4 separate regions of the Homo sapiens genome follow, and all the other regions are linked to region 1. Evidence: promoter capture Hi-C in 16 types of primary human blood cells and fetal thymus (Javierre and others, 2016). All regions are on one chromosome and are shown on one strand. The core of a region is centred on a gene start or on the middle of the fragment in contact, and the rest is flanking DNA. Distances in the headings are between cores, read along the strand shown. Region 1 holds the start of SLC12A2 (solute carrier family 12 member 2). Region 2 overlaps CCDC192 (coiled-coil domain containing 192). Region 3 overlaps CCDC192 (coiled-coil domain containing 192). Region 4 has its middle 49 kb from the start of CTXN3.

The links. The method cuts DNA at HindIII sites, captures the fragments that hold promoters and counts their contacts. A CHiCAGO score of 5 or more calls a contact.
Region 2: a fragment that was not itself captured here is called in contact with the fragment with the promoter of SLC12A2 in region 1 in 1 of 17 cell types (endothelial precursors); the score reaches 5.6 in endothelial precursors.
Region 3: a contact is called between a fragment that was not itself captured here and the fragment with the promoter of SLC12A2 in region 1, in 4 of 17 cell types (M2 macrophages, endothelial precursors, M0 macrophages and 1 more). The highest score is 7.8, in M2 macrophages.
Region 4: a fragment that was not itself captured here is called in contact with the fragment with the promoter of SLC12A2 in region 1 in 1 of 17 cell types (fetal thymus); the score reaches 5.9 in fetal thymus.

The regions. Positions count from the first base shown.
Region 1 is chr5:128,079,150-128,086,561 of GRCh38, reverse strand. It overlaps SLC12A2 (solute carrier family 12 member 2), which reads right to left and starts at 2,796. Exons shown (of 27, transcript NM_001046.3): 1 at 1,852-2,796. The coding sequence starts at 2,607. SLC12A2-DT (SLC12A2 divergent transcript) reads left to right here and starts at 3,387. Exons shown (of 4, transcript NR_152813.1): 1 at 3,387-3,592. RefSeq lists an enhancer at 1,643-1,812 and a silencer at 2,303-3,132. The HindIII fragment of the contact is 20,683 bases long and covers 1-6,406 here.
Region 2 is chr5:127,793,969-127,800,555 of GRCh38, reverse strand. It overlaps CCDC192 (coiled-coil domain containing 192), which reads right to left. Exons shown (of 7, transcript NM_001317938.2): 4 at 3,322-3,453; 5 at 2,394-2,450. Among named protein-coding and RNA genes, the nearest start is that of CCDC192, 94 kb to the right of the region's middle. The HindIII fragment of the contact is 1,425 bases long and covers 997-2,421 here.
Region 3 is chr5:127,755,605-127,762,577 of GRCh38, reverse strand. The region is part of intron 3 of CCDC192 (coiled-coil domain containing 192); the gene reads right to left. Among named protein-coding and RNA genes, the nearest start is that of CCDC192, 56 kb to the right of the region's middle. The HindIII fragment of the contact is 1,622 bases long and covers 792-2,413 here.
Region 4 is chr5:127,597,060-127,604,086 of GRCh38, reverse strand. No RefSeq gene overlaps it. Among named protein-coding and RNA genes, the nearest start is that of CTXN3, 49 kb to the left of the region's middle. The HindIII fragment of the contact is 1,148 bases long and covers 3,714-4,861 here.

The DNA.
Region 1 (7,412 bases), core at 1,547-4,046:
GTAAGAATTAACAGAATCTAAAATTGAGATCCTAGAGTCTTCTGAAGGGCCAATATAAGAGGGAAATAACAACTAGGTATTATTTTCCAGGCACTGAACATGGTCATTTTTATTGCGCTTTTTTTCTAATCTTCATGATAACCCTGAAAAGCTGAAGCTAAGAGGTTGGGTGATTTCTTCAACTACCATACAACTAACAGTACAGGTGTTGTTTTTTAGATACTTTGAACCAAAAAGCCAAGCAAAAAACACAAACACACAAATCTAAAGTTTTGGAGAACTTGAAGTGCTTTGTTATTGAGATAATTTAATTTAAAGTAGCAAAAACTTCCCTAGGAAGCATATAAGCTCAACATATATACCTTTCAATTGGATGTCTTTCTAAAACTTATGGGTAAATACAGATCACTTTACTGCTCACATACTTGGCTTTGGTAAAATAAATCTAAAATATATCTGTATAATATTTTCATTAGTAAAACTGTCCTAAGATAATGAAAATTGCCAGCTCCATATCTACTTTTGTCTACAATGATTTTTGAGTTTTGAAAAGAAAAAAGAATAGACTTGATAGAAACTACAGGAGTATGAATAAAAAATGTTTTAGACATTGTTTTGCTTCTGATTATGACAAAATACCACAATGGAATAACAAGAATAGTATTATCTAAAGCTAAATGATCTCAGGCTTTTAAACAATCAATAAGCTGTAAGAGCTCTGTAATTACCTCTGTGTGAATGTTACATTATCAAACACTGGGACAAGTACAATCTTGTATGAAATCACTGTATGAGATCAAATAATCATATCCAAAAGAAATCACATACTGGATTTAAACTTGTCCAAACTGTGATCATTTCAACCTATGTGGTACCATCCTCTTGCGTTCACAAATTCCATCAATGTAGTCATTACACACTTGTAAAGGAAGACTTCAAGTAATCCCGGCTCATAAAAAAGTTAAACATTAACGAAATCTCAAAAGCATCAATGTTATCTCAAAACAGTGACATTGAACGCTGAAGAAATAAGTCTTATGTGACCATAAAAAATAGTTACAAAAATCAATGAGTTTATGGGGATGGTTTTCTGTTTACAAAGTGTAACTGCTTATGGCAAAGACCCCACAGGTCTTTCTGGTCATCCTCTACAGAAAAACCAATTCTCCTGTTTCCCTTTTTTCTTTAAAGACTCGCCTCTGTCCCTTTTTTTTTAAATATACACCTCTCCCAAAACGTTTTCATCGCAAAAAAAAAGAGTTATGCCATTATTAGGAACAGCGTGTCCCAAGACAAGATCTCTATGATCCTTTGTATATTCAAGATTGCAAGAATTGAGCTTTAATAACTCATAGACCATAAACACACCCTGTTAAGGTTTTCCTTCAAACAGCAACATTCCCACTCTTGCGATCCCTAATAGGCGTACATAAGCCACACAACACAATCTTTCAAAACGACACAGATGGTAGGTGCTCTCCAACCTCTCTCGAGAGATCCTCACTGCACATTCTCCTCTAAAGGGCCCACAAACACTACTGTCATTCAGAGGGATGGTGACTGTTGAGCGTGGGTGGGAAAGAAAGTGCACACGAGATACCTAACTGGATGGGGAAGGTTGTTAGAGGCAGCCCTCCGGTATCACGTAACTAGCCAAACCCGCTACAAACTTTTGAGAGATTAAGTTAACATTCCTCGGCAATTCCACCCTTGACAGCTGAATCCAGAGATGCCAGCAAGTCGTGCACGTCTACTACTCCCGCCACCTCAACTCGGGAAGAGTCTGCAGCCACATCCCGCGGTCGGCATGCACCAGGGGCTGGGGAAGAAGGGAGGGCTGGGCGAGCTCACCTTTTCCAGCTCGTCGTGGAGCTCCGCCAGGCTAGGCCGGAGCAGCTTCTCGCCCAGCTGCGCGGCTGTGTGCCGGTAGTGATCGATCCTGGGCACAGCGTCCATGGTGTTGTGGCCGAAGGTGCGCAGGTAGTAGGTGTTGGTGTGGGTATCATAATAGTAGTGCTGGTGGTGCCCACTGCCGCCGCCGCCGCCGGAGTGCAGGCTGCTGCCCTCGCTCAGCACCGTGTCCCCGCCGTTCTGGAAGCTCACGTTGGGCCCGTCGACTCCGACCCCGGCAGCATCTGACAGGCTGTCTTCAGCCGACGAGGAGGCAGCTGGGTCCACGAAGTTCACGCGGAAGCGGCCCTTGGCTTCCTCGCTGCCTTTAGCCGGCTCGCTCTCGCCGCTGGCTTCCCCGTCCGCGGGGGTCTGCTTGGCCCCCGCCCCAGCACCAGCCGCCGCCGCTGCCGCCGCCGCCGCCGCCGCCGCAGCAGCGGCCCGCCCGGCGTTCTCGGAAACCAGGTCCACCTGGAAACGGCTCTGGCTCGGGGTGGGCCCCAAGGGTCTGCCCAGCCCGTCCCCGGCCGCCGCGGGGCCCTCATCGCGGACCCCGCCGCCGTCCCGGCTCGCGGGCGCAGCATCCTCCGGCACCGAGGGCACAGCCGTGCCGGGCAGTTCCACCCTGGCTGCGGCCAGCGCAGCGGCTGACGGCGTCTCCCCGACCCCGGCCAGTCCCGGGGCGCCGGAGGAGGGCGCCGTGGGCCGCGGCTCCATAGCTGCCCGACCCCCGGCGGAACTGCAGAGCCCGGCGGACGTCTCCGGCAGCACGCCCTCCACACCCCTGGCCGGCGGTGGCCACAGCCGCAAGACCAGGTGAGAGAGTCTTTCTCCCCGCCGCCTGCGGGCCGCCGCTAGCCTGGACGGCCACAGAGGCCACCGGCAGCCGAGCGAGCGCGCGAGTGTGGCGGGCGCGGGGCGGGCCCCGCTGTTTAAAGCCTCGGCGGGGCTGCGGCGGCGGCGGCTCCGGCAGCAGCACGCGGGAGGCGGGGCCGGAGGCTCCTCCGCCCCTCAGCCCGCCCACCCGCGGTCCCGCAGCGGCGCGCGGCTGACGCTCCCTCAGCGATCCGGCCCTCCGCGGCTCCTGCGCGACCCCACGCAAAAGCGCCCCGTGCGAAGAGCGCGGCCAGCCAGTCCGCAAAGGGCCTCGGGCAGTGCGGGCAGCACGAACGGCGCGATCGGGGAGCAGGCGCGGCTACGCTCCGCCTCAGTGATGTCGCCGGGAGGATCTCCGCGCGGCTACCTCCTCTTCCGCCGCCTTCCTCCCACGCCTTCACCTCCCTCCCCCGCCGCGCTCTGCGGCGAAAAGGAGCGGGCTCCCAGGCCACCTCCCCTCTCTCCACCCAGGGGCCGCGCGTCAGTGGACCTGCAGCCCAGGCAACGGGGCTGCGGACGGCGCGCGTGCCCTGCCTCGCCTCACGCCGGTAGCTGATGCTCCCGCGGCAGCTGCCACCCCAGCGCCCCAGCCACGGCTTCAGAGGCTCTCGCACGCTGGCTTTTTTTTTTTCCCCCCGCTTTGGTGAACTCGCAGTACTTGGGCTGAGCCCGAAATCTCGCGAGATGCTGCAGGCGTCAGTGCGGCTTCCCACTAGGCGCGTGGTACCCGAGGCCGGGCCGGAGCCGCAGGCCAGCCGCGATTCCTTCGGGCGATGCTGGGGGCTTTCCGGTCGGGGCCGCAGCCGCTTCCGGAGCCGCGGGCGAGGTGCGTTCCCCAGCCTGGTTTGCTCTGGGCTCTGACCCGCCGCCGCGAATCTCCGCTCGTAACTCCGGGCCTGAACCTGGAGGAGGGAGGATTTCCTCTGTGCAGCTTTCGAGCGGTAGACTCACCCTGCCAGGCAGACCTAGATTGGCATAACCAGAGATCAGTTCCAGTTGTGATGCAGTGGGTGTCTACACACTTCTGATGACACCTTTATTTTAAAAGCTGATGTTCCAAGGTGAGAAGGGAGCTTCTTTGAGACGTCATGTTGTTTCAAGACGAGTTTTAATTTAAGGCATTTCCAAAAGTGATATGCAGCTCATCTCTCAGAATACAATGCCGGCAATAACTACCCGTGGAGTCCTTACCAGGAGGTTTCTGCGTGATTTGGGTTGTGCAGAATTCCTCTGCTTATATAGAAACAGAAAGGTACTCCTCTGCAGGTCTAGTTTCTCTTCGGTAAAATGTAAGGGAATATAACTGTGTTCCCACTTTCTTAGCAGCAGAAATTTTTAAACCTATAGATTATGCCCAAAGTCCTAAGTAAAATCAATGAATGGCGTCCTCCAATTACTTGGTTTTTATTTATGTACTTTTTTTTTTTTTTTTTGAGACGGAGTCTCGCTCTGTCGCCCAAGCTGTAGTGCAGGGGTGCGATCTTGGCTCACTGCAAACTCCGCCTCCTGGGTTCACGCCATTCTCCTCCTGCCTCAGCCTCCTGAGTAGTTGGGACTACAGGCGCCCGCCATCACGCCCTGCTAATTTTTTGTATTTTTAGTAGAGTCGGGGTTTCACCGTGTTAGCCAGGATGGTCTCGATCTCCTGACCTCGTGATCCGCCCACCTCCGCCTCTCCAAGTGCTGGGATTACAGGCATGAGCCACCGCGCCCGGCCCTTGTATTTTTAAACTTTGACTTTATGGAGACGAACACCATCGTTTGCTGAACACTTGAAACATGATGAAAGAGCCACAGAGTTGGCAGAACTGTTTGAAAATGCTGTAAGTAAAAGCTGCAACCAGGCAATTTTCAAAAAATTGTCATAAACATGATCTTACTTGAACTTGACAACTTTTCAGGCTATTTTATTATCTCTATTTTTAAAGACGGTGAGAGGGGAAAACAGCTGTTGCATCAGGATTTTTAAAGCTCCTTTTGAGCTTTAGTAATAACCAGAGGAGGCCAGAAAAATGAGGTGGTCCTTTAAGCAGTGCAGTTTTCTACTAGGGAATTGCTGCATTAGTAGTTGATCCGTGCAGTACCTTTCAGCTCCACAACGAATTCTGCCACTATTGGAATTCAACATTCATTTAGTTGAATAAATACTGAACAGGTACTATGAGCTACTCTGTATTTACGGGATATAGCAGTGAGCAAAACGGACAATCCCATCTCTCATGGAGTTCTTTCTAGTGAGAAAGAGAAACAATAGACAAGATAAATAGGTAAAATACATAGCATCCAAGCAGTGAGTACTAAGGAAAGGGAAATGGGATATTTGTGTGAAATGAGGATCATAAAATTTTCCATAGGATGGCCTCACTGAGAAGGTGATATTTGAGTAAGGAAGTGAGTGATATGAGTTCTTGGGAAAAAAAGTGTCTGAAGCAGAGGGAAACCAAAGACCCAAAGGCAGGAGCATGCTTAGCATGCTCACGGAATTGCATGTAAGCCAGTTTGGCTGGAACTTGCTTAAGAGATGTGAAGAATCAAAGGCAATTACATCAGAGAGCTTAGGATATGGGATGTAGTAGATCAGAATGTTTAGGACCTTTTTTGGCTGTTAGACATACTTGACTTTTTTAGTAGAATAGTGTGTTAGTCAGCTCAGGCTGCCATAACAAAATACATAGATTGGGTGGCTCAAACAGTAGAAATATATTTTCTCACAGTTCTGCCTGCTGGAAGTCTGAGATCAGAATGCCAGCATGATCATGTTCGGGTTTTCTTTTTGGCTTGCAGACAGTACCTTCTCAATGTCTCCTCAGATGATAAAGAGAGCGTTGTCTCTTTTCTTATAAGGGCACCAGTTCTGTGGAATCAGGGCTTTACCCTGATCACCTCATTTAACCTTAATTATCTCCTTAAAAGGACTGTCTCCAATACAGTCACATAGGAGTGAGGAGAGGATTCGGGCTTCAACATATTAATTTAGCAGGGTACACAACAGTCCTTGGCAGATGGCAGGTTATTGGAAGGTTTCAGTGGAGGAATGACATCTGCCATTTTTAAAGGATTCATCTAGCTGTCTTGTAGGTAGGCAAGGGATAAATGGTTGGGTCAAAGAAGCAAGGAGATGTGTTAAGAGGTATTACAGCAATCCAGGAAGTGATGATAGCGCTTTGACCACAGTGGGTATCAGTGGAAATGGGGAAAAGTAGTTGAATTCTGGGGAAACAATAGAATTTGCTGATGGATGTGAAGTGTGAGAGTCCAAGGGTTTTGACCTCAGCAACTGGAAGAATAGTATTGCTATTTTCTGAGATGGCAAAGGAGGTTAAAGGAACAGGTTTGGGTTGGATGAATATCAGGAGCTTAGTCTGAGATGTCTGTTGGAAGAAACACACAAATGTGTATTAATAATAAATAGTAGTCACTCATATAAATTTGTAACTGCAAACAGAAGTTCTAGGGGATAGGAACGTAGTATAAGGAAAATGCAAAATAGGCCAGACTTAGTCAAGACAGAAGTGACTTTTTAGCAAAGGTCTAAAGGAAAATTAGGACCAAATTGTCACTAGAGGGTTTCCAACAAGGGAAATATTGTGGACAAATGCCCTCATGGAGTGAGCAGGGACTATCAAAGAAGCAAGAAGCTTGAAATCAGTTTGGTTAAAGCATAGGGAAGGATTGGGGGCAAAAGTAGTAAGAGATGTGTCTGTATTCTAAAAGCCCTATAAAAGCATTAATGGGTTTCTGGATAGATTGAGGGGCACATAATCAGATTTGTGCTTATTAAAACTCTCTAGGCCTGGCAAGGTGGCTCACACCTGTAATCCCAGCACTTGGGAGGCCAAGGCGGGTATATGGCTTGAGCTCAGGAATTCGAGACCAGCCTGGACAACAATAATGAAACCCCATCTCTACCAAAAAAACCCACAAAAATTCAAAAATTAGTGGGGCGTGGTGGCACGCACCTGTATTCCCAGCTCCCTGGGAGGCTGAGGTGGGAGGATCACTTGAGGTGGGGGTTGTAGTGAGCTATGATTGTGCCACAGCACCCAGCCTGGGCGACAGAGTGAGACACTGTCTCAAAAAATAAATAAATAAAAATAAAACTAGTTATATTATGAGCAGAAGAGTGGAGAAGAGGAAGAATAAGCATGGAAAGTCAGGACACAATTTCACTAATCTAGCTGTGAGTTGATAGTAGTAATAGTAGTTAGCCTTTATAGAGAATTTAGGTCCTGGATACTGTGCCAAAATCTATACATTCATAATCTTACTGAATTCTCGCAACACTATGAAGAAAATCATAAGATTACATCCATTTTACAGATGAAAAACTTGGTTAAGGAAAAAATAAGTAATTCCAACATTAATGAGCACATAAAAGACCTACAAAGGTCAGGAGGTGAGAAGAAAATCAGATGAAGGCATTTGAAAACAGGATCAGCTGTGTTAAATTGGGCCAAGAGGCAGAGAAAAATGAGTTGAATATATATTGACTTTAGTAACATGTATTAGCCAACAAAATGAGAGAGCAATGCAGTGAGGGGAGGGCCACAAACATTCCAGGAAATATCAAAGTGTATTATGTGAAACTTATGAAAAATTTATCAGGAGAGATCTCCTTTACTTAATTGTTGGCAAATATTTCATTG
Region 2 (6,587 bases), core at 460-2,959, 280 kb after region 1:
GTGTGTTACAAATCACCATTCATAATCAAACTCTTTTGGAAAAATGACCAACAACAGCCTGTTCTTGGAGATTGTTTGTACATGGATAACTCTTGCAGGAAATAAACCCATTTAACTTTGTTTCCAACAGTCTTCCTACTTTTTGTTGTTGTTGTTTTTTTTTTTTTTTTTTTTTTTTTCAGAATACCTCTTAGCATCCTATGGAATGTTTTTTTCAGGGACAATGTTCTAAGAAGTGCTCATTAAAACACTACAGATCTCTAATCAGGGGAGGCTTAAGATAGAAGGAACTTGCTGTGGGAGAAGGCAGTTTGTCTGCATGGGAGTGAGAGTTGAAGCATTATGAACTGCTGAATCACCAAAAGTGAACAGAAAGAGAAAAGGAGGTTGGAGATAGAACCTTTATAAACACCATTTGATACCTCAAATGGCACATAGAGAATATAATTTGGAGAGACAGCAAGTTGTAATAGCAAAATCATGGGTTTCAGAGTGTGACGAGTGATCTAATCTTTTTAAGATTCCATTTTCTTTCTGAAAATTAATGACTACCTTGCTGGGTTGTGTTGAGATTTAAAATAGATATGTGAAATATCTTCCACATAGAAAATACATAATCCACTTTCAATAAATACTATCGTTAATACTGTTTTCATTTAAGTTTTTCTTGACACATTGAAGCAAAACTTTCATGAATACACTGTTGTATTGAAACCTGAATGTTGGACAATTACATATGAGAAATCTCAGTCACTGGTATCAATACCCTAATACAGGGAAGCAATTCTAGTTCAGACAAGTCTCAAGCAGTAACAGCATGGTACAGGAATAGCATCCATAGTAACTAGGCAGTGAAAGAAGACACTATAGGAATTTCCCTAAGGCACCAGGAACTATGGCTTTTTTCATCTGTTTTTCACAAAGAGATGCTGGAAGCTAATATCTGAGCTTTAGTGAATACATTTGCCCTCCATATAAAATTCTGAGCTAAAAGCTTCTTCCATGTGAATGACTGTGGGTATCAAATGTCGTGACGGGACATCCTCTGACAATAGTCATTATCTGGCACCCTCAGGGGGAGACCAGGGGAAAGGCATCTGCAACAAAATACTGGCTAATGAGACATATTTCTGTCTAAATATGTCACAATGCTACAAATGCAAGCCTTAGTCATTTTCAATATTGGACAATTGAACATACAAGCCCAAAAAAGATTCTGAATTTAGAGTTAAAAGCTCTGCTAACTGCCACAGCAGATTAGCTTTTCTCTTCTCTAGCACAAAAATGGGGACAATTACCAATATTTTACCCAAGTCAGTTCATTCCAAACCCCAAAGGAATGGTCACCAGAATGTATTATCTTGCAGTCTTTTGGAGGGCAACCTCATAGGTCTCAGGTCTGTCTGAGGGGCCTGGTGTAGTTAAGATTGGCCATTAACATGACTGGTCAGTATCTTTAATCAAGAAGTCATTCCATAGCAGCCAAGATGTGGATGAAAAAGATGACCAAAAGGATGGCAATCAAGTCTTTGAGGAGATGTCTAAGGCATTTGGGTTGTTCAGATCCTTGGGAAGGAATAGTGGCAGGGTGACAGATTTATGGTCATGGACACACAGGGTATTGTGGCAGGAGATGCTTATGTGTTGTTCTCAGAGTAAACATAGGCTAGTGTGCAAATGAAATTTGCCATAGAAATTCATGGGGTCTCTCTCAGGCGAGTACTTGCAGGAGAAAATGGGCAACTATGTAGTCTGATTGGTTTATATGGTCACTTGCCTAAAATCAATATTAATGTTAATAATATATATTAAATATATGTAATATATATATGTATGTATAAAAAATGTATAAAAAATAATGTCACTTAACGTGTGTCCTGAAGACTGGCAGCATCAGCATTGTCTGAGTCTAGAATCACCAAAAAGTGCAAATTCCCAGGCCCCAACCTAGGCATGCAGGAAACAGAATCTGAGTAATTTGTTTTAAGAAGCTATCAGGTGATTCTTACATACAGTAAAGTTTAAGAAGAACTGCTCTAGACCTTTATCTGATGGGTCAATAATTACCACATCTCTCCACTTCCACCTACTCACCCAACTAGACTGGCTTCTTCATCTTTCTGTCCTAAGTTTCCAGTTCTCTTCTTCTGATAGCACCTGATTAGACCATCTGATTATATATAAGAGCTCAGTTTGGAATTTTGGTCATCCACAAAAATCAGAATTTTATGTATGAAAAGAAACTGTGTAGACGCAGTAAAAATACTCATTTTTAGCCTTGTGATTTGGTTTGCTCCAGACGAAACTCATTTATAACTTCTTTCCATGTTCTGTTCATTTCCAAGCTAACAATGACATAAATAAAGGGATGAAAAAAGGAGGAAAACACTTACCTGGGCTATAAGTTGCTCCTGGGAAGCTTTTACTTCAGCTTGCAATTTCTGGATGCACTGAAAAGGAGAAAAGTTTAGAAACTAAGTATGTAACTCTTTCTTTTACATACTCAACGTATTACAGACATAAATGTGTATCAGTTTTCAAATCTCGTGAATGGCAGCATTATTTCAGCTACGTTTTGAAAACCATCATTGGAGAAATCATCCCCCCATTCCTATTTCTCTTCCATTCTATGAAAGAACCCAAAGAAAAAACACACAAATATATTAAGAACTAGGATATGCCTGAGTAAGATAATGTTAGCTTGATGTGCTACGGTTAATGCAAATGCCCCTATATCATATAAATATATATATATTTACAAATAAATAAATAAATAAATATATATATATATATATATATATATATATATATATATATATATATACCTTCACATGAAATCATATCCATATATTCCAAAAGCAAACCCTTTGGATTGAACAAGAGGTAAATTTACATAATGATATATATTTTAATGCTCAGATATTCAGAGATTAATCATTTCTTATAAAGTAATTGATTAAAAAACATATGCCAAATGTTATGAGCCTCTCGTTTTACTCCACAGAAAGAAACACTCCAACATTAACAACTAAGAGACATTTGTACAGTCAATACCATTTATAAAATAAATAGAATATTCAGCTAATGTTATTCAAAGGGTTACATATCAAACAAACTTTAAAACTACTACTAGCAAAATAAATTTTATCTCAATATTTGCCAGGGAATAAAATTACTTTTAGCAAATACAAATATTGTTATTTACCATTATGAACTTAAAAATACGACTTTTAATCCAGACTGAAATGGCTTTCCAGGATTGTCAATTCATATAAAATTAGGTAACTTTTAAAATAAAGATGACTTTGTTCTACAACATACCTGGTCTTTCACAAGAACCATTTTTTCATATGGTCCCCCACTGGCTTCCTTGTGGTCCACAGCCTCCAGTTTTTCCTCCAGCCGGGATACTTGTTCAAGCAGTTTTGATTTTGTTCCTTCAGAGACTGAAAGCTAAAGATATTTTCTTTATAAGAGTATGTAAGTACAGTGATATTTTAAAAGCTCCTTTTAAAAATTCAACTTACAAATAATTTATCTTCCACCAGTATCTACTAAATATGAAAATAGCTTCTGGAGCATTCCTCATAGATGATAAATTAGCATAGAGAAAGAAGGAAAAATTGATTTTATTTATTGTTTATAACTAAGATCTTTCTAAGCAAGAGATGAAATCGCATAGTTACAACGGAGAATATAGAAATACTAGAAATAGAGAAATTTTGAATGCAAAGACCTCAACACTCATCTTCACTGTGTTTCAAGATTGCACTTTATTTGTACAGCTGAATCTGAAACTTGTATTCTGGCTTATATATGGTCTTTGAAACTTAACTCTTGGTGGGCTACAGCAATCTAGAAAGAGTGGGAGTTCTGACTCCTTTGAATGTTCGCCATAGAAGCATCAGGGTGCATGGAACTGGGGTATATTCAGGAATTTCAAGTTAAAGTCTGATCAAAGGCAGATCTATGCTAAGCCACAACCAAAAAAATTCCTAGCAATGACTTTGTTTTTGTTTGACTGTTTGTTGATTCCTTTTGAGGAAAGTGGTAGTTTGATAGTCCTTAGTCTCTAATTCCCTTAGAGAGTGCCTGTACTAGCTTCTCCTTTCATTCTGACAGCTATTGTGCTTTTTCTCTATAGGTCAGCAACAGTCCTGAAAGACTCCCTGGAAAGGGACACACAATTCTGTATTCACTGCAACTCCCAGGGCATTCTCTGAAGCATGGATTATCTCTACATTTCTTTTTCATTACTCTGAATGTTATTGCAAGGCAAGTTGTCTCATTTTGAGAAAACTTAATTGTCCTTAAATTTTTAAAGACAATCTACCAAATATGGAAGCATGAAGAGGTCAGTCTGCCAAGGAAATAAGCACATTATCTATACTGGCCCATCAGATATACTGGCATATCATATATACTGTGAGCACAACATACATACTGGCACCGAACCATCCAGCCACACGCTCATTCACTGGACAAATGTTTGTTCAGTTGCCTCCTCCACAGCCATTGTGTTATATGCCGCAGATTAACAAAGTGCAAAATAAGGGTTAGAGGGAACACACATGTTACGAACTGCTGGCCATGCCTTTTGGCTCTTGGTGGCCTTGGAGACCTGCGGTGCTCCTCATGATCACCAACATGTGTTTAACTCCTGAGTGCATGGTGGTTTGGGATTGCAGTCTGGCTTCTCTGCCTACCCTTCTATTTTATTAGAGACACAGTATAGTGTAATGGTTAAAGCCAAGGAGTCTAGTGTCTTTATCCTTTGGGTTAAAAAAAATCTCAATTTTGTACAAAAATTAGCCAGGCTTGGTGGCAGGTGCCTGTAGTCCCAGCTACTAGGGAGGCTGAGGCAGGAGAATCACTTGAACCCAGGAGGCGGAGGTTGCAGTGAGCCAAAATCGCGCCATTGCACTCCAGCCTGGGGAACAGAGTGAGACTCTGTCTTAAAAAAAAAAATCTCAATTTTGCTGTTTACTATCTGTGTGATCTCAGCAAGTTACTTGACCTACCTGGGCTTGAGTTTTTTAATCTGTAAATAGCGATGGGGATGAAAAGAATACTACTTATCTCAACAGTTGGTTTTGAGGATTACATGAGTTTAAACAACAGAGACACTTAGAACAATGCCTGGAACATATCAAACATCTAGCAGCTCTTATTATAATTATTCTTCTACCTCTTCTAGCTCACAGTAGGTGTTCTTCTGGGTTTTATCTAAATATTTACCAAATTGTTTTTTTTTTTTTTTTTTTTTGAGATAGAGTCTCACCTTGTCACCCAAATTGGAATGCAATGGCGCAATCGCTGCTCACTGCAACCTTCGCCTCTGGGGCTTAAGGGGTCCTCCCACCTCAGTCTCCTGAGTAAGTGGGACTACAGGCTCACACCACCACGCCTGGCTAATTCTTTGTAATTTTGAGATGAGTTTTCACCATGTTGCCCAGGCTGGTCTTGACCTCCTGAGCTCAAGTGATCCGCCCGCCTCGGCCTCCCAAAGTGCTGGGGTTACAGGTGTAAGCCACTGTGTCCGGCCTATTTATCAAATTGTAAAACAAAAACAAAATATCTGAAGACATCATAATCTTTATGAGCTGCATACCCTGAATTCAAACTATATTTGATTTGTTCATTTCCTATAACCACTCTAATGTTCAGAGAAAACTCCTCTCTATGTCTGGAATTATTTTTTTCTCAAATATAATCTCTCTCAGTTGGGCCCATTTTATTCCCATATCCTGTTTGTTATGTGATCCATCGTTACCATTTTATTGTCTTTCTTTTAAATCTACCTTCTATTGTTTGAAAGCCTTTATTCATTCACTCAAAAGACATCATTTATTCACTCATTTGTTAAAGAAATAAGTTGGACATTTATTATATGTAAGAATTTGTAGATTAAAAAATGAAAACAATATTGTTCACAGCCTCAAAAAACTCATACTTTAGCCAGAAAGTCAGATCATTTAAAAATAGCTATTATATAATGCAAAACTATATAGGTGAATAAATAATATTAATAATAGTTAACATTTCTTGGGCACTTACTACATGTCAGACAGTCTGCAGAGCCTTTTGTTTTCAAATTTATTTTAGTATCTCAATTTATCTTCAAAACATCCTGAAGGTTCATTCTATTATAGCTCCCATTTTGCAGATAAAGAAGTTGAGTTTCAACAAAATTATATGACTTATCAAAGGATACAGCAAGTAAGTTCTGGAGTTCAAGTTTTCAGTAGTGGACATCAGGTTTGACTCCCTACACCCAAATTTGACCCCAGCTCCAAAGTAGGCCCTGGTCATCATGACAATTCTATCCTCTTTGCTGTTGATTGGTTCAGGAATCAAAGCATAAACTAATCAGAGCCTGGCTTTCCTGTAGCAACAGTTATCGTATAAGGAGATGTGACCTAATTTGGGTTACTCACACTGCACAGAATTGGAGAGTGATTTGGAGAGGCACCCTCTGTCACCGACCAGACGCGAATGCTACTACAGCTATCCCACAGACATCAGGAAATCAGGCATACTCAGAAAGGAAGAGTAAACAATAGAAAAAACTTAAGTTCTTGATAACA
Region 3 (6,973 bases), core at 353-2,852, 320 kb after region 1:
AACAACAATATACTACAGAAGCCGATTTGTCATTGTGTTTGACTCTATTCAAAACAACACCATCTCTTCACCAGCTTCTATTTTTTTCCTTGCATTCTCTGAGGCTACCAATTTATGCCAACAACCCAGTAACAAGATGAAGATGAACATCTGCTTAAATGAGAAGTTGTTGGATTTTGTTTTGTTTTTTAATAAGGAGGGAACTTGTCTGCTGTAAAATCAATCAGAACTCTGGCTAGCCAAATTGTTTAATGAAGTTCCTGATAACTGGGCTTCATGTTGATAAGGAACTCATTTTGGGTCAAACAGACTGCTTGTGATTTTATGGCATTAAAGTACACTTCAAAATAGTTCTGAAAACAAAAACTCATTCACAAAACTCATGATTTCAGATTGGCATGTCAAGCATAATTTCTGAGCATTTGCAGAAATGAATACTCCTACCAAGGGCACATTGTTTATTTCAAATAAACTTGACATCAAAAGATCCACTGTTGCATATAAACAATGAAAAAAAAACAGAGCATTTTTTGGATAATCTCAGTATGCATCAGATTACTTTTAGCCACTCAATACACAAATTCAGTATCAAAAATTTGCTGGTATCTTTGTTCCTTCTATTCCTAAACATAAAGAAAAGATAGACTGGACACTAAGATGTACTAAGAGAGAAATAATGGGAGTTTTGTTAGGGCCTTAGGCATAAAATGATTCATAATTTCTTGCTGATTAGAGTCAAACATAACTTATTAGTTTTTTTGGTGGGGCGTTGTTTGTTTCTAGTCCAAGCTTTATAACAATACACATAAATATACCTGAAGAATTTAGGGTAAATATTAGCAAAATAGTTAAAACTCTCAAGAGAAAGTAAACTATTAAAATCCTCCCGTTTCTTTGAAAATGCCATCTTGAAGAGAAAACCTGAGCCCCAAGAACCTTGATCTAACCTAGAGCAATAATTTGGCCTTAGGTTTTATTGTTTCATATCAAAAACAACAGGAATAACACACACACTCCAACATACACACACTCCAACATACACATGCACATAGAGCTACAGTCACCAGCTTCTCAAGGACAAGGGCCCACAAGGTTATTCTCAGGAACCAGACTTCCCAGTGGGATTTAAGTTTAAGCGTAGTCCCACAGATACCCTTTAGTGTGGCCCAGCAAAGTATTTAACACCATCTGAAGCTCCATGTATTTTCAATGTTTATTTGTTTGCTATCTGTGTCCTCCAGTAGAATGTCAGCTCCATGAGTCAGGGGTCTTATCAATCTTGTTTACTGCTGTGTTCCCACTTCTAGATATAGTACCTGGCATATAGTGAATCCTCAATAAACAATTGTTAAATGAACAAATGAGTGCTGACCAACAAAAACAAACAAACAGAAAAAACAGCAAAGAAACTAAACCTGGCTTGATCTTGACTTTGAACAGCGTGCAAAGCCACAAATGCCCCAAATTAGGTTCTTGCAATAAGCCAGAATGGGCTTGAAGGGGAGCAGGATGTTGGGGAGCCAGTCAGAATAGATACAAGTCTTTTTCAGAACGGAGTGTTTCTTTTGCGTTTTTGCCTCCTCTTGAATTTCCTTTAACTTTCTTGTTCATTCTGACAACATACACATAATATTTTCTTTCTTCAAATACAAATTACGGGTAATTTATCCCCACCTCTTACATTCCAGGAGTCTCATCATACGACTCCAACAAGGAGGGGTATCTTAGAGTTCAGCTCTTGCCATCTTCTGCTAACTTAAGACTTGGTTTTCTGTCTTGCTGAGATTATCTCTGCAAACTATAACACGGGGCTCTTGGAGCATTATTATTTTTCAATCTTCCTAAAACTTTCCTTTTTTTTTTTTTTTTTTTTTTTGAGACAGAATCTCGCTCTGTCACCCAGGCTGGAGTGCAGTGGCGCGATCTCAGCCTGCCACCATGCCCGGCGAATTTTTTGTATTTTTTAGTAGAGATGGGGTTGCACCGTGTTAGCCATGCAGTTGGAGAACACAGGACAAGGGTGAAAAAGAACCTCAGCCTGAAGATCTGGGTTAGCATCTGGTACTAAAGCGAGATGGGAACTTGTTATAAATGTAAAGTTTTGAAACTTACCTCATCTCGCTTCAGTACCAGATGCTAACCCAGACCTCTCATCAAAAAGGGCAACTTTGCAAGAGTTTCCATGGGAAATCATTAGGCATCTTCCTTACAGTACTGATTTGGCTGCTTCTGCCTTATTTTTGTTTCCCAGTCTTAAAAAACCTTTAAAGAGCACTCAGTTTTCTTTAGTTAATGATGTAAAAAAAAAAAACCACTGTATTAAAATGGTTAAATCCCCAGGACCCTCAGTTCTTTAAGGTGGACTAAAGGGCTGGTATCATCACTTCAAAAGTGTCTTGAAATTGATGAAGCTTATGTTGAAAAATAAAATTTATAATTTTTATTTTTATTGTTTAATTCCATTTTTCCATGAACTTTAAAAAGTTTTCTCATATGTAACTATATTTTGCTAGGTATGGTACCCAGAAGATATATGAAATGAATTCTTACTACATAGTCCTTACTGGATTCACCTCCTGACACCCTCCCTGCCCCAGCTTGCCAAGGAAAACAGCTCCCAGTCTGTACAAAATCAGATAATGGACAGAAACAGACAGAAGCTCCAAGAGATGAAGCAGAAAGGAAAGACAAGGTTAAAGAACTAAAATCCCTTTACCAGATGAAGAGATGAGAAAGAGTAGAAGAGAAAACTGGATAGTAGAAAAGCCAGCCAAGTTATGACAAGGGAGCTTGGGTAGCGAGCGGGGCAGTGTGTGTGTGTGAGAAAGAAAGACTTTTGTGGTAGGTTGGAACTCGTTAATTTATGTGGCTGAAGGCATAAAGAGAACTACACAGTTCTGCTATGACCACTGGTAGGAGTGAAAATAAACAGATGTTTTTGAGAACCTACTGTCTTAGTTCATTTGGGCTGCTATAACAAAATACCATAAACTGGCTAGCATATAAACAATGGGAATTTCTTTCTTTCTTCAAATTCTAGAGGCTGAGCAGTCCAAGATCAAGGCACCAACAGATCTGGTGTCTTATGAGGGTCTGCTTCCTGGTTCACAGATGGCAGCTTCTTGCTCTGTCCTCACATGGTGGAAGGGGTGAGGGAGATCCCTTGAGTCTCTTTTATAAGGACACTAGTCCCATTCCTGAGGCAGTGCCCTCAAGAACTTATCATCCACCAAAGATCCCACCACCACATACTATCATATTGTGGATTAGGTTTCAATATATGGTTTTTTTCTTTTTGGCAGGGGGACAGAAACATTCAGCCATAATAACCACAAAGGGACAGAGGGACAGATACCTATCCCATTTAATAACAGCCTCACAACAGCCCTATGTAACTAGCATGTTTACACCCTCCTAGATAAGACAACTGTAGCTGGGGAGACAAAGTGAATTGCCCAAGGCCATAAAGCTAGCAGATAGTGGAGCAGGAACAAAGCCTGGGCTCTCCCTGATCTGATACCTGGAGCTGGGAACCAGAAGCCATTGATAAATGGGAGAGACTCTGGGCTAACACTGCTGCCAAAAGGAATGTTACCTCATAAGCTCTATGTTGGCATGCATCTGGATCCAGACTTCATTGCAAAAGTATGGGTTTTCTTGACACTATCTTTTGTCTCAGCACAAAAGCTGTATGGTCTATTTGCTTGTGTATGGTCATAAACAGCAGTCCACCAGAGTCCCTTTCCTTGTCCTCTTATATTCACTGGTGATAGAAGCCAGCACACATGAAAAAACTATTTTTTATGGGCTTCTCTAGAAATGCTTTTACTTTTCATCTTTCTTTCACATTCCTAACAGCTTTTCTCCCTTTTATTCACCCTTTTTTTTATCTATTACCCAACATCCAGGCATTTAGTTTTCCTCCCACCTGATCTTAACCTATGGGAAATACAATAAAGTATTTTCTTAAGCAAAACTTGGTAATATGTTGAGTGGTTTATCATTATAACCTAGGTTAGAAGTTGGAGCCAAATGACACTTTCTCACTCTACTTTGGCTGAATTGGTGCAGTTATTTCTCAAAGCCTTGACTAACCCAGATTATAAGTCTTAATTGCAAGTTATCCTGATCCCATTATTTCTTTTATTTTGACATTAGTGACTTGGCTGCAGAGAAATAAAGAATAATTGTAAGCTAAAGTGAAGCCCAACAAAGAATTCTGTTGACTGTGTGACCTCATCGGAGGAAGTGGCCACAACCTTCTTATTTGTTGGCTATTTCTAATTTTTTTCTTTGTAACAGTGGACCTTGCTGAAGGAGACCTTAGAAATGCCCAGTTTGCACAAATTTAGGCCCAGGACCAACAGATGATTAATGCAGGTAACAACACTAGGCACCTATACTTTCCATTCTGAGTTAAATCTGTGTTCTCAGAGGCAAAGCTAACAGATAAGGTCTTGAATAACAGTGAGATTAACCCTTTTCTCAAAGGCAGGATCCATTGTTTGATAATATTGCAAGCTTCCACTGCTTCATTCCAGCACAAATCTTGGTTCTTGTCGTGTCTTCCACACTCCCCACCTCATTCTACTTCACCCGGCTAGCCCATAATTTGGGTTACCAGTAAAGGCAAGCTAGCATTCCCAACATCCTTGTGACAAATCCTAAATTAATGACATTTAGAAAAAGCCTTAACGTGTACAGCAGGCAAAAATATTCCTTCAAACACACACACACACACACACATACACACAGATTGAGAGAGAGAGAGAGAGAGAGTGTGTGTGTGTGTGTGTGTGTGTGTGTGTGTAATCCTTGTCTTTAACACTAAAGACAGTCTTACTGCAATCCCTTAGTGGCATGGCCTGGTAAGGAAGACAGTGGCACCCAGTGGACAAATGTTTGATTGTTTGTGACAGGTGTTCTATTCTGAAATATTCTCAAGAACATTCTTAGGAAATATCAGTTTCTCCCCTTTCCCTATCCTCTCATCCATATGTTTTTAATGTTGACTTAAATTTTAAAATAGGGGACAGAGGACTGTTCTTAAAGTTTTTATGTTTTCAAGGAAGAGACTAAACATTGGAGAAAGCAAAAATCTCAGGATTAAATCCTCTGACAACAGTGTTGATTGACCCCTCTCAACAGTAACAATGAAGACAGCCAGATCTCATAAAATGCTCAAGTTAATTAAAAATATAATATTGAAAATGGCTGCAATGTGCTTTTACACATCATACTCTCCCTTTCCTCAAACTATGGCCAACTTCCAATTAAACTCACTTGGTTATGCAAATTTGGCAACTTCAAGAACTATCCTTTAGTACAATTAACATGTACAGATCCTGCAACTTAATGCTATTGTGCAGTTTATCTTGGAGTCATATAAACACCTATTTTCATTCTCCATGTCTTCCAATTTTTCTATTCTCTGTGAGCTACTTGGGTAGAGAAGCTCTGGCTTACATGTCTTTCCCACAAAACACCTAACCAGCACCTTACTTATGGTAGGTACAAAAAAGTTAAGTGAAATCCAGTTTCCATTTTATATATTTAATCTGCTATATTACTGAAAAAATAAATACATCTAATTGTTTGGTGTTATATAAAGAGATCATCCAGCTAAGAATCTTAAATATTAGGAGCTATTTGTGAAACCACCTTTGTAAATTATAACTGAGGAAATTATGACAGTGAGAGAAATAAGACCTAACCAACTCTATCTTGCTTCTAACCCTTAAGCTGTCCTTGTTCATTCCTGGGCATAGGCCGAACTAACTTTGGGAAGGAATTCAGTTCATGGTTTGACTCTGAAACAAAATTGATAACAGCCCTTTCCCGAAAAGACCCTGTTCTTGCCTGGGGTCCAATCTGCCCTTGCAGAACTACCAAATTAGCTGCAAGATTAGAAATTACAATTTAGGGTTCATGCAGCCTGTGGCTGAACCTCCCCAAATTGCTCCTGGGGATAACATCACTATTGTAAAGCTTAAGATCAGTGCTTCAGATATTTTGCAGATCCTGCACTCGATGGATCAGCTGACACCACTCAGATGGTAATCTGCCCCAACCAGTTCTGCCATCGCACCCAGGAACAGAAGACATTAAGAAAACCTAACTTCGAGCTCCTATGATTCCATCTCCAACCTGACCAACCAGCACTCCCCACTTCCCGGGCCCCTCCCCGTCGAATTATCTTTAAAAACTCTGATCCCTGAATGCTTAGGGAGACTGATTTGAGTAATAATAAAATCCCGGTCTCCTGCACAGCCGGCTCTGCGGCTCTGTGATTTACTCTTTCTCCGTTGTAATTCCCCTGTCTTGATAAATCGATTCTGTCTAGGCAGCGGGCAAGGTGAACCCATTGATTGGGTGGTTACATTTGCATTGGATAAAAATATTTCATCAAGAACAAAAATAATGTGTACTTTTTTTTTTTTTCTTTGAGACAGAGTCTGGCTCTGTCGCCCAGGCTGGAGTGCAGTGGCGCAATCTCGGCTCACTGCAAGCTCCGCCTCCCGGGTTCACGCCATTCTCCTGCCTCAGCCTCCCGAGTACCTGGGACTACAGGTGCCACCCACTACGCTGGGCTAATTTTTTTGTACTTTTAGTAGAAACGGGCTTTCGCCATGTTAGCCAGGATGGTCTCGATCTCTTGACCTCGTGATCCACCCGCCTCAGCCTCCCAAAGTGCAGGAATGGGTACTTTTATGAGTGAATTCAATCTTACTGATTCAAACGAGAAATCATTAAAAGCCATTTGATTACCAAAAAAAAAAAAATCCTATATACCTTCTTAGTGTAACCTAATCCCAGCATGGGTGCCCTTTTTTAGTTATCCATTGAAAAATCTTTCCCAATTTGGAGACTCTGAAATTCTTAGTTTTTTTTTTTTTTGCTTTGAAATGGTACCTTATGTTTATCATTACGTTCTTGGTAATTCTTAATTTTGCCACAGTTCGAGGCTTGTTTT
Region 4 (7,027 bases), core at 3,038-5,537, 480 kb after region 1:
ATTAACATTGTACTTTCATGTAACAACAACAACAAAAAACTATTAAGAAGGAAAGTAAAAGTCAAATTCTGTGCAGTTTGACTTTCTGCAATAATCTATGAAGCAGGTATATTTCTTCAGGTTCAGTGAAAGTGCTTACAAAACATAAAGAGAGCTCCTGAAAAGTCAAATTTGCATAAGACTTGAAATGGGAAAATTTGAATCCTAGAATTCAAGAGCTTGCAGGAAAAGCTAGGATGTTATTACTTCATCTTATCTTGGCTGTAAGTTACCCTTTTACAAGTGAGACTGAGCCCCAGAGTAAAATACAGCCTGAGGTACAAAGAGTTCACACAAGAAAGTGCTCACCCTAAAAACTTGCAAATAAAAAAGGGCCACACAGCAAGCTGGCAGTAAAATGAGAAACAACCTCTCAGGGAAAGGTCAAGAGAGGATGTGGAGTGAAAAATCTTTAGGGAACTGTCACTGTCTGAAAAGGAAAGTGACAAAAGTGACAAATTTCAGAGAGTCAGAGGAGAACAAAGGATGGGAGTTGAAAAACGACTAGAACCACCTGCCTTCTTTTTTTGAGAGACCACTCAAGGTCATTTCCCAGGAATCCTTAGGAATTCTCCCCCAGATAAAAAAGGGGAAGTGTTGGTCTCAGATTGCTGCTAACTGGGAAGAGGTACCTCCAGAAATAAGGTGGAGCTGGGAGGACAGAGATCTGGGTTGTCTGAGCTGGCAGCCCATGGCCCTAACTTCATCACTCGAGCTCCTTGAGGGTTTTTTTTTTTTCTTCAGGATTAAAAATAGAAATGCATACGAGTGTCGTGCCAACCAGTCTCATAATGATCTGTGTGATAATGACCAAGCTTAAATTCACACGCTCCAGGCACGGATATAGACATACACACACACACAAACACACACACACACACACACGCACACACACACACAGAGTTCTTAAGCCACTTCCCAATTGGTATCAATTTGACACGTATGTATAGAGACTTTTAGTTCTTCCTGAGCCTGGGGATCATGGGGACCTTTACCCCTGGGACACAGGGGTGCCCACACAGCCTGTGGAGCTGAGGCTCTACTTTAGCACTGATGATAGATCATGCAAGGCATATAGTTCATTTTAAATTTTTGAGCAGCTACATTGAGCAGTAGGTGAAATTAATAGTAAGAACACATCTTATTTAACCCAATACATCAAAAAAATCATTTCAACATGTAATTCTCAAAATGTGATATATATTGTATAGACACTTACACTACATCTCAATTCAGCTAGCCACATTTCAAGTGCCCAGTAACCACATGGGGCTAATGGTTCCTTTAGGGTCAGCACAGCTCTAAGGAGTGAAAGTCATGAAGGTTTGGGGGAGCAGGGATAGGCTCAAGTGTTACTCCAGATGAGCACCCTGGTGGCCTTCAGTAGTGATTGCAGAGCAAGAGTGGATGCAGGAAGCTCAAGGAGAGGCTGTTGTCAGAGTCCACGTATGAGATGTCGCGGATGTGAGCTGCAGCAATGGCAGTGAGGACAGACTTGAGAAATGTTCAAGAAAAGGCAACATTAGGACTTGGTGATTAGATGGGGGTAGGGTAAGATGGAATTCTTTAGGATGATTCCCAGATTTCTAGTTACCATGACAAAGTCAATAGTATTGCAATTTGTTGAGACAAGGAATCCTGAAGATAACATGTCAGGGACAAGATGAGGTGGGCAGCAGGGATAATTTATTGCTGGATGGGTTGAATTTGAGTTGCCTGTGTGGCATTCATTACTGGAGATGTCCAGCAAACTTTCAGCTACGGGGTTCTGAACTTCAGGGAAAAGGTTGGGTCTAGAGATTTAGGTATACAGGTTTAGAAGTTTTCCATAGATATCATGTGTTCTTATAAGACCCCCCAGAAGAGCCATGAGCCAAGCAACGGATGGAGGAAGAACAGCGCTTGGAGGGATTTACGCTTTGGTGATAACCAGGGATGCTGGGATCAGTTGGGTGTGAGTTTATAATGGAACTGGGTATCACTGGACATCACTGGTAGAGATCCCTTTCTCTCCTCTTTCTTTCTTTCTTACTCCTTCATTTTGTCCCTTTCCATTTTCCCTCCTAATCTTGGCTTTAAAGGTACTGGGGGAGTATCTAAAACGCATATTAGCACGGCTGATAATATTCAGTGATTTAAAAGGTTCCCAAGACTTACCCGTTATTGTGTTTTAAGCATTGTGAGAAACAATGCAACTCTAGTCAGAGAGCCCCAAACTTGTGGTCATATGGAGGCTGAACTGAGAATAGTTCTGAAGGTGCTCAAATAAATATGCAAACCTATCTTCCGACTAGTTCCTCTAGCCTCAATGAGATAAAGAGTTGAAAAGCTTCTCTTTAGAGATTAAAATATGCAATATTTGTTCAACAATGAAAATGCTTTTAATATCTCCAAACTTGGCACATAGTTTAAAATATACAGATATTCATCATTTACTTTAAGATAACTTTACATCTTTGAGGTTTTAATCACTTCTTTTAAAAGTTATTTTTAAAGATGTTCACTTTTGATGAAAGCACATTACAATGTCATTCTGTAACAGCAGGTTTCCATCAAATGCTTTTTTTTTTAAGTTGTGAAAACAACATTGATTATACTGCCAAACACTGCTAAAAAATGTTCTGCATCATAAAAGCATTTGGAGTCCCATTTATTATCATCTAAATTGTATATTGTACACTCCATAGCAACATATCGTAAACTAAACAGCCTTTCCTATTTAAACCAAGAGATATTGTAAAGCCTTTTTGGAAAGCATAATTTGATGGATTTCTAACCTAAAACTAATCTTCTTGTTTCCTCCAAACAAATGCTAATGGTGTGCTTGCCTTCATAGTTTCATCTACCAGTTTGGTAATGTTGGTCACTTAGCATGGCATTGAGAGAGATTAGGCTGAATGACAAGGATGCTAAAAGTGGAGCAAATCCATGAGGCATCATGGCTGGTTTTTGTTTCCCACATTTCGTTACACAGAGGTAGTTGTGTTTTCCTCCTGGGAGCCATCGAATAAACTTCAGAAAGACAAACCTATTAGCATTGACCAAATGAATCCAGAGCTAACAATTTTTTGCCAGTTTTGAAACTGAACTTGAGGTACAAAATTCCCAAGGTGGTGACCATATTTCTTCAGGTAAGTAAGAGTTGGGAAGCCAGTAGTATTTCTGTGGCCTAAAATTGAGGTTCAAAGCATCCTTTCCCAGTACTGCTGCAAAAAAGGGATTTACTATTGGGCACTGTGCATTATGATATGAAAAATATAGGCTGAGAATGAACCAACACTAGTGTGGAATTCATTCAACTGACTTTTGTAACAGGAATAACTTTTGTTTATCTAGTATCTCTTATACCCTCATATAGCATACTTATTAGAAGCTAGTAATGCTGGGTTTGGTATCTAGGTCTAGTTTCTTACAATTGATGAAATAGTCTGAGCTGAACTTAAGCATTGAGTGTGTGTGTTTGTGTGTGTGTGTATGCGTGTGTGTATTTGTATGTGTGTGTATATGGTACACTGTATATTATACATGGTATAATTATATATGGTACACATATATACATATATAGGGTACACATATATACAACGGTGTAACTAAAAAGAATCAAATGATTTTAGTTATACCATTGTTTTTTAGTTCTTTTTCATGGGATTTATTACTATCAGAAAATATAAGCTTTATAGCCTTTATATTGTCAAAAATGCCCATGTTCTTACAGATCTTGTCACTTCTCATCAAGAAGTGGAATCTGTCTCTTCCCCTTGAAACTGGGTGGTCCCTGACACAAATAGAACGTGGAAGATGTAATGCCACATGACTTCTGAAGCTAGATTAGAAAATGCCATGTAGTTTCTTCCAGTCTCTCTTGGGACCCTCACCAGTGGAGCCCTAAGCCTCCATGTAAGAAGTGCCAGGCTGCCATACTGTGAGAAAGACCAAACTAGGCCACACAAGGAGACCAAACGGAGAGGCCCCAAGACTGCATGAGCAGAGAGAGCTGCCTGGCCAGTCCCCAGATGCTTCAGCCACCAGCTGACTGCACTCACACAAGGCAGTACAAACAGAAGATTCTTGCCAAGCCATTTATGAATTTCTGACCCACAGAAACCAGTGGGTCAGTTAATTATTTTTGTTGTTTTAAGCCACTACGTTTTAAGGTGAGATGTTACACAATATTAGATGACAGTAACAAACTTTCGCCGTCTACCTTAATTAAGGGGCCTCTTTAATAAGGGGACTTGCTGTAGATCTTTAGTGTACTGCCTTAATGCCCCCTCCACTTCTCTCCATTCCAGTCAGAACCATGGAACTCATTTTGCCAGGTGAGAGGAATGTGGGCTGTTAAGGGCTCACAGCTGTGTCCCTTTCCAGGGATTGCCTTCAGCCAAAGGAGCTGCCTTGCCAAGGTACAACCCTCCCTTAGGAGAGACCTCTTCCAATGACTGATTAATAGAGGAGGCAAAGACCCATCCTGCTTGCCTTACTCCAGGCAAAACAGAAAGGTCATCACAGCTCCTGACCTCCTTGTGGGATAAGCTCAAACCTCAACTGCAACCATGTCACACACGACTTCTTCGTCTACTCAGTCTTGCTTCACTTGCTCCCTTACTGGTGTTATTCTTGAGGGTGGGCCTCAATAACCTCCCACACACAAATCTCCATTTCAAAGGCAGTTTCCAGATAACTGGAACTAAGACAGCCACGATCCAAAGTTAACTGCCAATAGAAAAAAATCATAAAGTCAGGCTAAGAGATTCTGTAAGTCTCTGGCTTTCCAGTAAGCAGCAATAATATTGAAAGATACATTGATGCTATGAACAAAGCTTCCAACCAACTGATTAGCATCTGTAGACTAAGATGGTTTCCTTAACAGTCTTTACAGCATTTTTTTTTTTTTTTGCTTATTCTTACTGCTGGACATGATCTAATTTGCCTGACCAAAACCTATTTTGGCCTTGGGAAGGCCTGACTATTTGATGTTTCAAAAGAGAATATGTTAAAAATAAAGCCATTTTTTAAATGGATCTGCATCAGCAATCAAACACTTAAAGCAAGACTGCAACCTATTTCTAAATCTTGGTCTTGGATATGTGGCAGAATTTAAGAAGATATCTGTTGTAATTATTTAAGAAGAAAACTTTTAGAACAAAGCTCATGAGAGTTGACAGTGCCTAGTTCCATTTTTCCTGGAAGTGAATGTTTTATTTCTTATTTTATCCACCAGTCATCTTCCAGAAGGATTCATTATTTCACAAGGACTGAAAAGAAAGACAGGGTTCAGAGATCATTGCTAGAGGCTGATGGTGTATGGAGACAGCTCAGTGATTTAAACCACAGGACATTCTTATTTTTCAAACCAAGTCCTATCTTCTACTTCAGGCACTTTATAATTAATTCATGAAGACAAGCTTCAAACTTTTTTTCTCTCACTTGTTTATCCTGTGTTTGCAAGCTCTTCCATATCTTCACATGACCACAGCTACCAGCAGGAACTACTGATTTCTCAAAATTTTCAAAGTCCTATCGAGACACTAAAGACAGCACTAAAGATAATTGGAAAGTGAATAGGAACATACATTTACTGGCGTCTCAGTAATCTGCACAGTGTAATATGGAATTGTTCTGTCCTTCTTTACCAACTTGGGAAGCAAAATAAGGTACCATTTTTTAAAATATTCAAATTAAATGAAGGTATCAGTACACCCATGGAGGAAAGTGTTTCTTCCATTCCTGGGGCCTTCCTTCCCAAAAGAAGTTCTAAGACCCAGAGGTATTTACTTAGTCAAAGGGGTCATTTTGATAGGCAGCCCTTTCAGGAGAGAAAGTGAGACATCTTCCATGATCAGTCAAGTAGTTTATGCTCGTCAGTGGTAGTGGCTGTTATCGCTGCTGTGTTAAGGTAGCCCTCCCTGCTGAGCAGACCACAGCAGTCCACCAGTGCTAACCTGACAGGAGTTGCTCCCCGCTCAGGGGAGAGAAGCATTGGTATTTTGTTCATCTAAGATTGCTCTCAGCCATACAGCTCTCTAGAGACATAGCTCCCCACCCTACACACAAACTCAATCACTATCCCAGACTACTCGGGATGCTAAAGTGGCTAGGTCAGAGGTGTCCAAGCCTCCAACACATGTTTTGCCCAGAATGTCATCCCTCTGCCAAAACACCACTTACCGTCATGGCTAAATTAGGGCACTCTCCTTGGAAAATGAGTCCCCAGACTACTCCACTAGTGTCAAAGGGGTAGGCCAGATCTAGAGAATCAGTGGTGCTGCTGACAGCCTGGCCTGGCTATCAGTAAGAAGAGATCCAAAGTGGCTATTGACCTTTCCTCTTTCTGTTGACTGAATCTCTCCAACTTCCTTTCCCAGCAGGAAGTTGAAGAGATATAGTGTGGCTATTGACTTTCACTTGGCTTTGAGGGAAAGTCAGTAACCACACTGGATCTCTTCAACTTTCAGCCTCAGGGCCCCTTGATTTCCTGACCCAGCATGGTTCTCAGTGAGCACTCTGCCTGTCTCATCTCATAGCTTGCCATCAACAATCAAAGCAGAGACCCACCTCCAAACACACATATGCTTGATTCCCTATAGCGTGTAGGGGTAGCACCCAGGGGTAGCAGAAGTTTTAACATAACATCATTACACAGAATTTCTCTGATTCAGCCTCCACTGAGTCAGGAGGAACTCTAGCACACCTCTCCCTTGGGAATACAGCTTGTTAATAATGGGAATTCTCAAAGAGGTCCTGCCCATGTTTTGTGAAGCCCTTCTCTCTGTTTACAGCTATTAGTGCTGCTCACTGTACAGTTGTCTCTTGTCACAGTGATCTTCAAAGGCAATTGTAACCCATCGTCAGCCATCACTGACAATGTTCACTAGAGGCACAGCACTGTGGGCACACACCAGAATGCTGCCCCTGCAGCTCCTACCTGGCCAGGGCACTAACATATGACAAGGCCACCGGCAGTTCCCAGCAAAGTCACATCAACGCA